3 separate regions of the Homo sapiens genome follow, and regions 1 and 2 are each linked to region 3. The links are contacts of gene promoters, found by promoter capture Hi-C in blood cells and fetal thymus (Javierre and others, 2016). All regions are on one chromosome and are shown on one strand. The core of a region is centred on a gene start or on the middle of the fragment in contact, and the rest is flanking DNA. Distances in the headings are between cores, read along the strand shown. Region 1 holds the start of ZNHIT6 (zinc finger HIT-type containing 6). Region 2 holds the start of CTH (cystathionine gamma-lyase). Region 3 holds the start of ACADM (acyl-CoA dehydrogenase medium chain).

Evidence for each region. Contacts are between HindIII fragments. The CHiCAGO score rates a contact against its expected background, and 5 or more counts as called.
Region 1: a contact is called between the fragment with the promoter of ZNHIT6 here and the fragment with the promoter of ACADM in region 3, in 1 of 17 cell types (fetal thymus). The highest score is 6.5, in fetal thymus.
Region 2: a contact is called between the fragment with the promoter of CTH here and the fragment with the promoter of ACADM in region 3, in 3 of 17 cell types (non-activated CD4 T cells, total CD8 T cells and total B cells). The highest score is 7.2, in non-activated CD4 T cells.

What each region holds. Positions count from the first base shown.
Region 1 is chr1:85,707,183-85,710,212 of GRCh38, forward strand. It overlaps ZNHIT6 (zinc finger HIT-type containing 6), which reads right to left and starts at 1,251. Exons shown (of 10, transcript NM_017953.4): 1 at 447-1,251. The coding sequence starts at 1,102. RefSeq lists enhancers at 508-1,341, 1,044-1,403, 1,342-2,174. The HindIII fragment of the contact is 1,595 bases long and covers 23-1,617 here.
Region 2 is chr1:70,409,494-70,412,517 of GRCh38, forward strand. It overlaps CTH (cystathionine gamma-lyase), which reads left to right and starts at 1,775. Exons shown (of 12, transcript NM_001902.6): 1 at 1,775-2,090. The coding sequence starts at 1,923. RefSeq lists an enhancer at 1,346-1,605 and a silencer at 1,666-1,815. The HindIII fragment of the contact is 3,560 bases long and covers 577-3,024 here.
Region 3 is chr1:75,723,200-75,726,123 of GRCh38, forward strand. ACADM (acyl-CoA dehydrogenase medium chain) reads left to right here and starts at 1,510. Exons shown (of 12, transcript NM_000016.6): 1 at 1,510-1,618. The coding sequence starts at 1,589. It also overlaps a transcript of SLC44A5 not described here. RefSeq lists enhancers at 896-985, 1,636-1,725 and silencers at 1,356-1,405, 1,456-1,505. The HindIII fragment of the contact is 3,396 bases long and covers 1-2,006 here.

The DNA.
Region 1 (3,030 bases), core at 1-2,500, about 10 Mb after region 3:
ATATTCACAGCACCCATGAAGAAGCTTGATAATTGAGGTCAAGTGTATTTTTGCCTAGTTTTAACTTAATCTACTTTGTCATTGTTAGTTTTATTAGACTTTCTCATCTCTATTCTCTCTCAAAGGAATACCGAGTAAAGAGCATATTAAGTCAAGCCAGATCCAGTTCCAACTGATCTTTTGGTCCCCAGAATTTCCACTTTCCTAACTTGACCATTACCCATTGGACACTACTAATTTCATGTATTTTCACTGAATTTGTTGTGTTGTCATGTACAACACCCTCCACTTCCCAACCCACCCCCGCGAACGCCGTCTGACTCCAGAAACCCAAACTTGTGCTCATTTTTCATTATTCCACCTTCTCCTGATAGTGTGGTTTCCTTCACTCTAGACATGAGGACTCCACAGCTTTATTCCCCTAAATGGAATCCCCCATGCCCTACCTTGACATGGCCAGTTTCCGCTTGCAGCCCACCGGGTGATTTATCGGAGGCTCTTCTTTCACCTTTGTATCATCCACGATTTCTTTCTTCAGGAAATCCTTCTCTTCTTTTACACACTCTCCATGCATCAATTCCTCTTTTATGCATTGACCAACAAACTTCTCCTCCTGTTTTATCTCCAAGTTATCCTTCTCTTCCTTCACTTCTGACCAGTCCATTACCTCTTCCTTTACCTTCTCTTCCTTTACCTCTGGTTCACCCACCTTCGCTTCTTTTACCACTAAACTACTATCCGTCTCCTGCTTCACCTCCAATACGCCTGCGTTCTCATCCTTCACCTCAGGCCTATCCTCCACCTCCTGTTCTACCCACTGGCCAGCCAACCTGCCTTCTGTACCTGGCCAGTCTATAATTTCCTGCTTCACTACCGTTAGGTCCATCGGTATTTCCTCTGGCCTTTGTCCACTTCCTTCCTCTCCATCCCCTATCTCCTTTATCCCTGTCAGCCCTGTCCCCTCCTCTCCGCCGCCGAACTCCTCCGCCCCTGCTAAGTCCCTTACTCCCTCCCTGCCAGGCTCTGGACTTAGCCGCACCCCCTCAGCTACGCTGTGGAGACCTCCCCCAGACTTCCCTTCATTTTCAGCAGCAAACTCCATCAACTCACGATCCTTGGCCTCTGCTGCCACTCTATCCTTCAATGTGGCTGCTGCACACCAATAGGAGGAATTACCGGTCGGAATACCTACGGCGGCCCACGTGTGGAGCCAAGCAGCCACAAACCCGGAATAGCCTGCTTGACGCGACTGCTCGAATCGCCGTAAAGCTACGCTTTTGCGCCTCGCCCCTTCACGACTTGTAGAGCTCTTTACGGCTCTGCGGAGGCCCTGCCGGATTCTCTGGGCGAACAAGCGTAACTGCGTGACTTGCCCGCTGGGGTTCTCGTCTCCTTCCTGGTTTCCACCACCCTCTTCCCTTAGAGAAGCCTCCTGGGCCACTCCCTGGGCCACCCTCCACGCCCTGCTGGGTGTAAAGAGTGTAGGAGACCGGCAGAGGGAGAGAAGCGAAACCCTTACACTCTGGAAGTGGGAAAACCCACCCTAATCTGTGTTAACCATTAAATCCAATCTTGCATGAAAATGGAGGACACACCTGATGTTATTAGGCCTTTCCAAGCTTTAGTTTCTTAAAGCTATAAACTAGGGACCATGGTATTATTAATATAAATCTCCCAGTGTCATTGCAAAGATTATATGAGATCATGCATGGAAATCAACTAGCAGTGACGGACACAAACTCGATATATAACTGGGAATCCTGATGGGCTTCAAACCGCCTGGTTTCCACCACCCCCTTCCCTTAGGGAAGCCTCCTGGGCCACACCCTAGGCCACCCTCCACGCCCTACTGGGTGTAAACAGTGGAGGAGACCGGCAGAGGGAGAGAAGCGAAACCCTTACACTCTGGAAATGGGAAAACCCACCCTTATCTGTGTTAACCATTAAATCCAATCTTGTATGAAAAAGGACACACCTGATGTTACACCTTTGCAAGCTTTAGTTTCTTGAAGCTATAAACTAGGGAGCATGGTATTATTAATATAAATCTCCCAGTGTCATTGCGAAGATAATATGAGATCATGCATAGGAATCAACTGTCAGTGACAGACACAAACTCAGTGTATAACTGGGAATCATGATGGGTTTCAAGTAGGAAAGAGGGCATTAATTTTTCTTTCCATTCTTTCTAAGTAACAGCCTGCGTCAGGCTATTCCCCATTCCCAGCATTCTGCAGGATTCTCTCAGAGAACATCATAAATATATTAGGCGAAAGTGCCTAATGCCCGGTATTGCTGAATAACATTGCATTGTATGAATGTGGCACGTTTTTTCATGCATGTACCAGTTGGTGGGCATTTGGCTTGTTTCCAGTTTGGGCTATTACGAATAATTCTGCTTCCACATTCATATGCAAGTCTTTGTGTGGACATGTTTACATTTCCCGTTAAGTAAATAACTAGGAGTGGAATTGCTGGGCCATATAAATTTATGTTAATTTTTAAAGAAATGCCCAAACTGTTTTCCAAAGTAGCTATACCATTTTACATTCCTACTGGCTGAGGGTTCCTATTTCTCTACATCCCGGCCAATTCTTAGTATTATCAGTTATTTGATTATAGATGTGTAGGGGTACGTCATTGAGAATTTACATTTCTTTAATGACTAATGATGTTGAACATCTTTTCATCTGCCAACTGGCCATTTGGATATTTTCTTTAATGAAATGTTTATTCAGATCTTTTGCCCATTTTTAATTGACGTCTTTTATTATCAAATTGTAGTAGTTCTTCATATATTATGGATATAGGTTTGTGGTAGACAAGCACCAGTATGTTCCCCAGTGATTCTCCACCCCCACAGTGTTCAGACCAATGTGTAGACTGCTCCTGCATCATCCCAGGATTGGTCTGTGTCACTGATAGCATACAGCAGAAGTAATACGTTACCTCTAAGATTAGGTTTGGAGAAAGGCTGTGGTTTCTGCCTTAGGCTCTTGCTTTTTTGGTCTCCTTCCTAGATCATTCACT
Region 2 (3,024 bases), core at 525-3,024, 5.3 Mb before region 3:
CCCAGGCTGTAGTGCAGTGACATGATCTCGGCTCACTGCAACCTCCGCCTCCTGGGTTCAAGCGATTCTCCTGTCTCAGGCTCCCAAGGAGCTGGGATTACAGGTGTGCACCACTACGCCCAGCTAAGTTTTGTGTTTTTTGTAGAGATGGGGTTTCACCCTGCTGGCCAGGCTGGTCTCGAACTCTTGACTTCAGGTGATTCGCCCACCTCGGCCTCCCAAAGTGCTGGGATTAATAGGCGTTAGCCAATGCACCCAGCCTAGTGCTGTCTTCTGAATGATTCTTTATTACAGTACACTAAATAAAATGTCTGTATTTATGCAACTCAGGGTTTGTCAGCAAATATTAGGAGGTAAAACTAATTGGAACTGTTTTAGACCCTTTTGGCCCCTAAATGCCATATCATATTACACAAAAATACCCACCTATAGTTATACATAAATATTGAGGTGAGTTGCAGTTGATGTTATATTTTTAAAAGAAAAATATTAATTAAATATGTATTAATATACATTAGTGTTTTGAAGTCTATCCATTTTTTCCCCCAGCCATACAAAGTTTGGTAGGATTCTAAAAGCTTGTAGGCCCTCAAGCACCACTCCTCTAGTGCTTAATGGGTTAAATGTCCCTAAAGCTAATTTGAAAAGCAAATTGCCTCATTCTTTCTCTTCATATCTTTCTTTCAAACTGTAAATTTTAAGAGCTGTTTATTCCTTATTCTCCTTGTTCTTAATTTGTTTAATAAAGTTTTAGATCTTTAGCGAATATTTTGCAACAACAGAAATATCCCCAAATTTCCTGGTGCTAGAAAACAGCCACAATAGTAAGTAGGTCAAGTCTGTATTGCTTAGGGAACAGGGAGATTTTTGTTTTAAAGCAGTGATTCTTCTGAGAGTAGGGCTCTGGGCGCAGGTGAGTGGTAAACAATCCTTTTTCCTGCAGGGATGTTGCTGTTGTGTAAAAGCAAAAGCATTTTGTGTAAGGATGTTAGGCTCCAGTAAGTATTTCAAAGCCACATTATCTTTCTCATTAGGGGGAGTTTCTCTCTGTACTTTAAAAGAAGATAATGATGCTTGAAAAAGCTCAAGATTGACTAACTTTTAGGAAGCTGCCAGAGTTGTGCATAGACGTCCTCACTACAGTAGCTTCGTTATGTCTTACGAACAATTTAACCTTCACTTCTAGTCATCGTTTCGTCATCGTAAGCACTGGGTCATTACAGAGTTCAGTGTACCTAAAACGCAAGCTGTGACTGATGAGAATCCAAGCTGCAAACTGGGCGGCTTGGGCAACTGTTTTCTTAACCACCCTCCACGTTGTGGCTTACGTCTTTTAGCACCGCCCTCAGGGCAAAGGATGGTGGTCAGAGGTAACTACCACAGTAAAAGAAGGCTATTTATGTGGTCTGTTTACAGTTACCCGGTTTCAACACTAAGCCAGCTTTCCGCCACGTCTCGGGCGAACCTCCGGCCTGAGGTCACAGAGACGCCCGGGTGGCTCTCAGGAGCCAGCATGGCAGCCTCCTCAGGACGGGTACTCAGGAATTTCGCCCGCAGGGACTAACACCACTTGGACCCAGGGACTCCAGCTTCACTCCGCTTTGTGCACTGGGTGGGGCGGTCGCGGTGACGTTTCAGGCAACGCCTCTGCTGTCAGCCAATAAGGAGCGGGAGACGCGTCGGGCCTGCGCTCAATGGGCCGCGCTGGTCCCGCCCCACTGTGATCGTGAGACTGCAGACCCGCTAATAAAATCCACCCCAACAATCGCTGTGTGCCGCTTTAGTGCGCTCGCCGTCGGCTCTACCTGCGTGCTTTAGCTCCTTCTCGCCTGATCCTTCTGTCTCTCCCAACCCCGGACACCCGGCTTCGACTGGTTATATCTTCGGTGTTCTTTTCCTCTCTTCTTCTTTCGCGGTTCAGCATGCAGGAAAAAGACGCCTCCTCACAAGGTTTCCTGCCACACTTCCAACATTTCGCCACGCAGGCGATCCATGTGGGCCAGGATCCAGAGCAATGGACCTCCAGGGCTGTAGTGCCCCCCATCTCACTGTCCACCACGTTCAAGCAAGGGGCGCCTGGCCAGCACTCGGTGAGCTGGGTCTGTCTGGGGCTGTCCACAGTTGGGCGGTAAAAGAGATACGGCTTATGAATTTGAAAGGCATGTAAGTAATTTATAATATGACTTATAAATTAGGAAGGCAACCGAAAGATGTTTCTACACTGTAATTCTTGCAGCACAGCTTTGTATCGGATGGTCCAGTGATCGTATTTCTTTTGATAAGCAGGACTGGAAGGAGCCGTTTGTCCAGCTTGCCATTTAGATTTGGCCTGAAATTCAGGTGATTTTGACAAATTTGCAATTAAAAATCGAAGGTCATAACTTTTTTGAGTTACCTTTAGCAGCATAAATTTTAAAGATGTAGTACGGAGTCAGCTTAAAAAATATTAAGGGTCTGATAACTTGACTAGAATTAAGATTGTTTCCAGTAGCTGTATGAATAGTTATTGAGTACCTACTATATGCCAAATACGTGCTCGTATATATCATGTGTATTACATGTATTGTCTCATCTAATCCTAACAACAACCCTAGTCTGAACCGAATTCTCATTTTTTCCCAATAAAGAAGCTGAGATTTAGGGAGTTAAGTAACTAGCCTTAGACTAGTAAGTATTGGAGATGGAATTCAAACTTTAGAAACTTGAGGTTGCTTTAGGAACCAACTCCTAGGCACTCAGCTACACTATGCTATCTCTAATAATGCTAGTAACAATTTAGCCTATTGCGTCATTTAAGCACTGTGGCTTAGTGATTAAGAACACAACTCATGACCGGGTGCAGTGGCTTACGCCTGTAATCCCAGCACTTTGGGAGGCTGAGGCGGGTGGATCACCTGAGGACAGGAGTTCGAGCCCAGCCTGGCCAACATGGTGAAACCCCATCTCTACTAAAAATAAATAAATTAGCTGGGCATGGTGGCGGGTAATCTCAGCTACTCGGGAAGCTGAGGCAGGAGAATCGCT
Region 3 (2,924 bases), core at 260-2,759:
ATGCGTGTGTGCTCTCGTGGCAAGACTACTAGCGAGCGGCAACCTTTCTGCAGAAAGTAAACTAGCCTTGCTAAGAGCTCCTTTGTCTCAGTGTTGATTTTTGCAACACTGAGCGCCCGTTCCCAACATCAGTAAGGCTTTTCTTTTTAATGAAAAGCAGCCCCAAATCCTTTTCTAAGAGCAGCCTGTGAAGTCGAGCTGCAGGCACAGACAAACAAGGGGGTAGCTTGCTTGGGTGAATGGTGGCAGGAACTACCGACTAGACATGTTTAAGATGAGGGCTCCATCTTCGCTTCTCTGCCAGCCACGTGTACAGTAAGAAGGGGTTACAATAGGCATATGGGTGATTTTGTGCTTTTCGTTCATCTTTTCTGTGTTTAAAATGTTCAGAATAAGAAATTGGAACAAAGGAGACATGAATAGACAATTCCTAATCATCTTTAAGAGTCCGCTTTGTGTTTTACTTACCACCACCACTTTGAAGGCTTTCTTGCCTATACCAGGACAAACTCAGCTCTTTATCCCTTTTCCGAATTTTCCTGGTACTTTCACTTTGAATATAGCGCTTAATTAACATTCTGCCTTGTACCTAGGACTAACACACTATAAATTCCCAGAAGACAAAGTAGGGGAATACAATAACAGGATATAGAATTTTAACAGCTAAATTAGATGAATTTATGGGTGACCTTTATTGGGCAAAAGAAAATGTTAAGTTAGTATAAGATTTAGTATAAGCTACCATCTCAAAACTCAGGGTCTCACTGGAAGAGAAAGTGACTCCAGGTAGAATTCCTCAGGGAGACATTCACTTCCATCATTCGCTGAACCAGGAGCTTTGGACAGCCTCGGATTGCACCCGCATATCCAAGGACACCACATCAGCGGACAAGTCATAAACAGCCTTGGGAATACGCGGAAAGGTCAAATTTACCTAAACAATTAAATTCTCTTTTAAATTTTAAGGAAACACAAGTATGCTTTCGCTTTAGGTAGGGCATTTGAGAGCAAAATGTACTAATACTTTGAATCCGCCAAGCAGACACGATCTGGGTTTGACCGTTCTCTCCGGGTAAAGGTGAAGGCTGACCACGGGGGCCGCTCTCCCTCCAGGCCCCAGCCACGCCCTCTAACCCAGGTTCCCGTCCTGCACCGCGCCGCAAGTCCCCCCACCGTTCAGCGCAACCGGGCCCTCCCAGCCCCGCCGCCGTCCCCCTCCCCCGCCCTGGCTCTCTTTCCGCGCTGCGGTCAGCCTCGGCGTCCCACAGAGAGGGCCAGAGGTGGAAACGCAGAAAACCAAACCAGGACTATCAGAGATTGCCCGGAGAGGGGATGCGACCCCTCCCCAGGTCGCAGCGACGGCGCACGCAAGGGTCACGGAGCATGCGTTGGCTACCCGGCGCCGGGGACCGCTGCCACCCCGCCTAGCGCAGCGCCCCGTCCTTCCGCAGCCCAACCGCCTCTTCCCGCCCCGCCCCATCCCGCCCACGGGCTCCAGTGGGCGGGACCAGAGGAGTCCCGCGTTCGGGGAGTATGTCAAGGCCGTGACCCGTGTATTATTGTCCGAGTGGCCGGAACGGGAGCCAACATGGCAGCGGGGTTCGGGCGATGCTGCAGGGTGAGAGGGAGCCCAGCGGTGCGGTGGGGCTGGAACATGGGTATTGTGGTGTCGGAGCAGGGGGCCCTGGGCCAAAAATAGGTGCGGCCGGGAGGAGTGGGAAGTCGGGCTGAGGAAGGAGCCAGCCTAGGGGCCCCCAACCTGCTTTCACGCCTCCTACCACCGGACGGAACGTAGCCTAGCGTTTCATTTTCCGTATCCTCCCGTCAGGCGACCCCGTTATAGCCGGCATCCTCTCTTTAGAATATCGTTTTTCTTTCTCTGGTAAACCCTCCAAATATTTACCGCGGGAATCCCACCTTTTTCCAAAGTGACCCCGTCTCTGTGTCAGAACCACGGGAAAAAGAAAAATGGAGCAGCTACTCCTTGAAATACTTAATGTTTAATAAGCTTTTCGTTGTAACGTTTCCACGTTGCTTACGGGAAAAAAAAAAGTAAAAAAAAAACCTGCAGAATTTTATGTGAACTTGTGTGTATATTCTAGTATTGGATCTTAATAGATTCTAAATAAGTTTGTCACTAGATGAATTTTGGTATCTTAAATATTCTTGATATGTTCACACCACTGCCATTTAGATGTCACTTAAAATTAAGTTAAAGTTATGTCTTGGACCAAAAAAGCTGCGGTTTTAGAATAATCCTAAAGAATTGCTGCCCATGTTTTGCTGGTGTTATGCAAGTTAATGTGCAGTGAAGGCAGAAATTGGGAGATTTCAGCTATTTTTAACTCCTACACCAGAAAAGCAGATTTCTCAACCTCCAAGGAAGGATCTAAAAAAAACCTGATATAGAAAACTTACACCCTTTTTCTCTTCTTTAACCCATAAAACTGACACTCTTATATTCCCAAGAAATGCACAAAAGTGTTCAATTCTAGTGGTGCTGTTTCGATATTTGGAATTTCATTGTTCTAGACAGAGAGCCCGAAGTAATAAAACCAATAGTTATATAGCATTAGGCTTTCAAAACATTATCGTACTTTAATCGTCCGAAAATACGCAGTGAGATTAGTCCCATTTTTTGGTTTTGAACGGAAGCTATAAGCAGTTTGTAAACCTGTCTACGGCCACAAATATGGTTGTGGAACCTAGATTCACATTCAGCAATTATAACTCCAGATCCCGTGCTGTTTCTGTTTTCTATTTGCAAACCACCTCTCTAATTAACTGGCTAACTTTGTTATGTAATTAACAGGTTGATGGGCATTGTATTCTGGTAATAGCAACCTTTGCACTTTGTTCTATGTAACATATTTTCCTGAACAGTCACATGTGAAGTGACTTTTTCCCTATTTAAATTCCCTCGG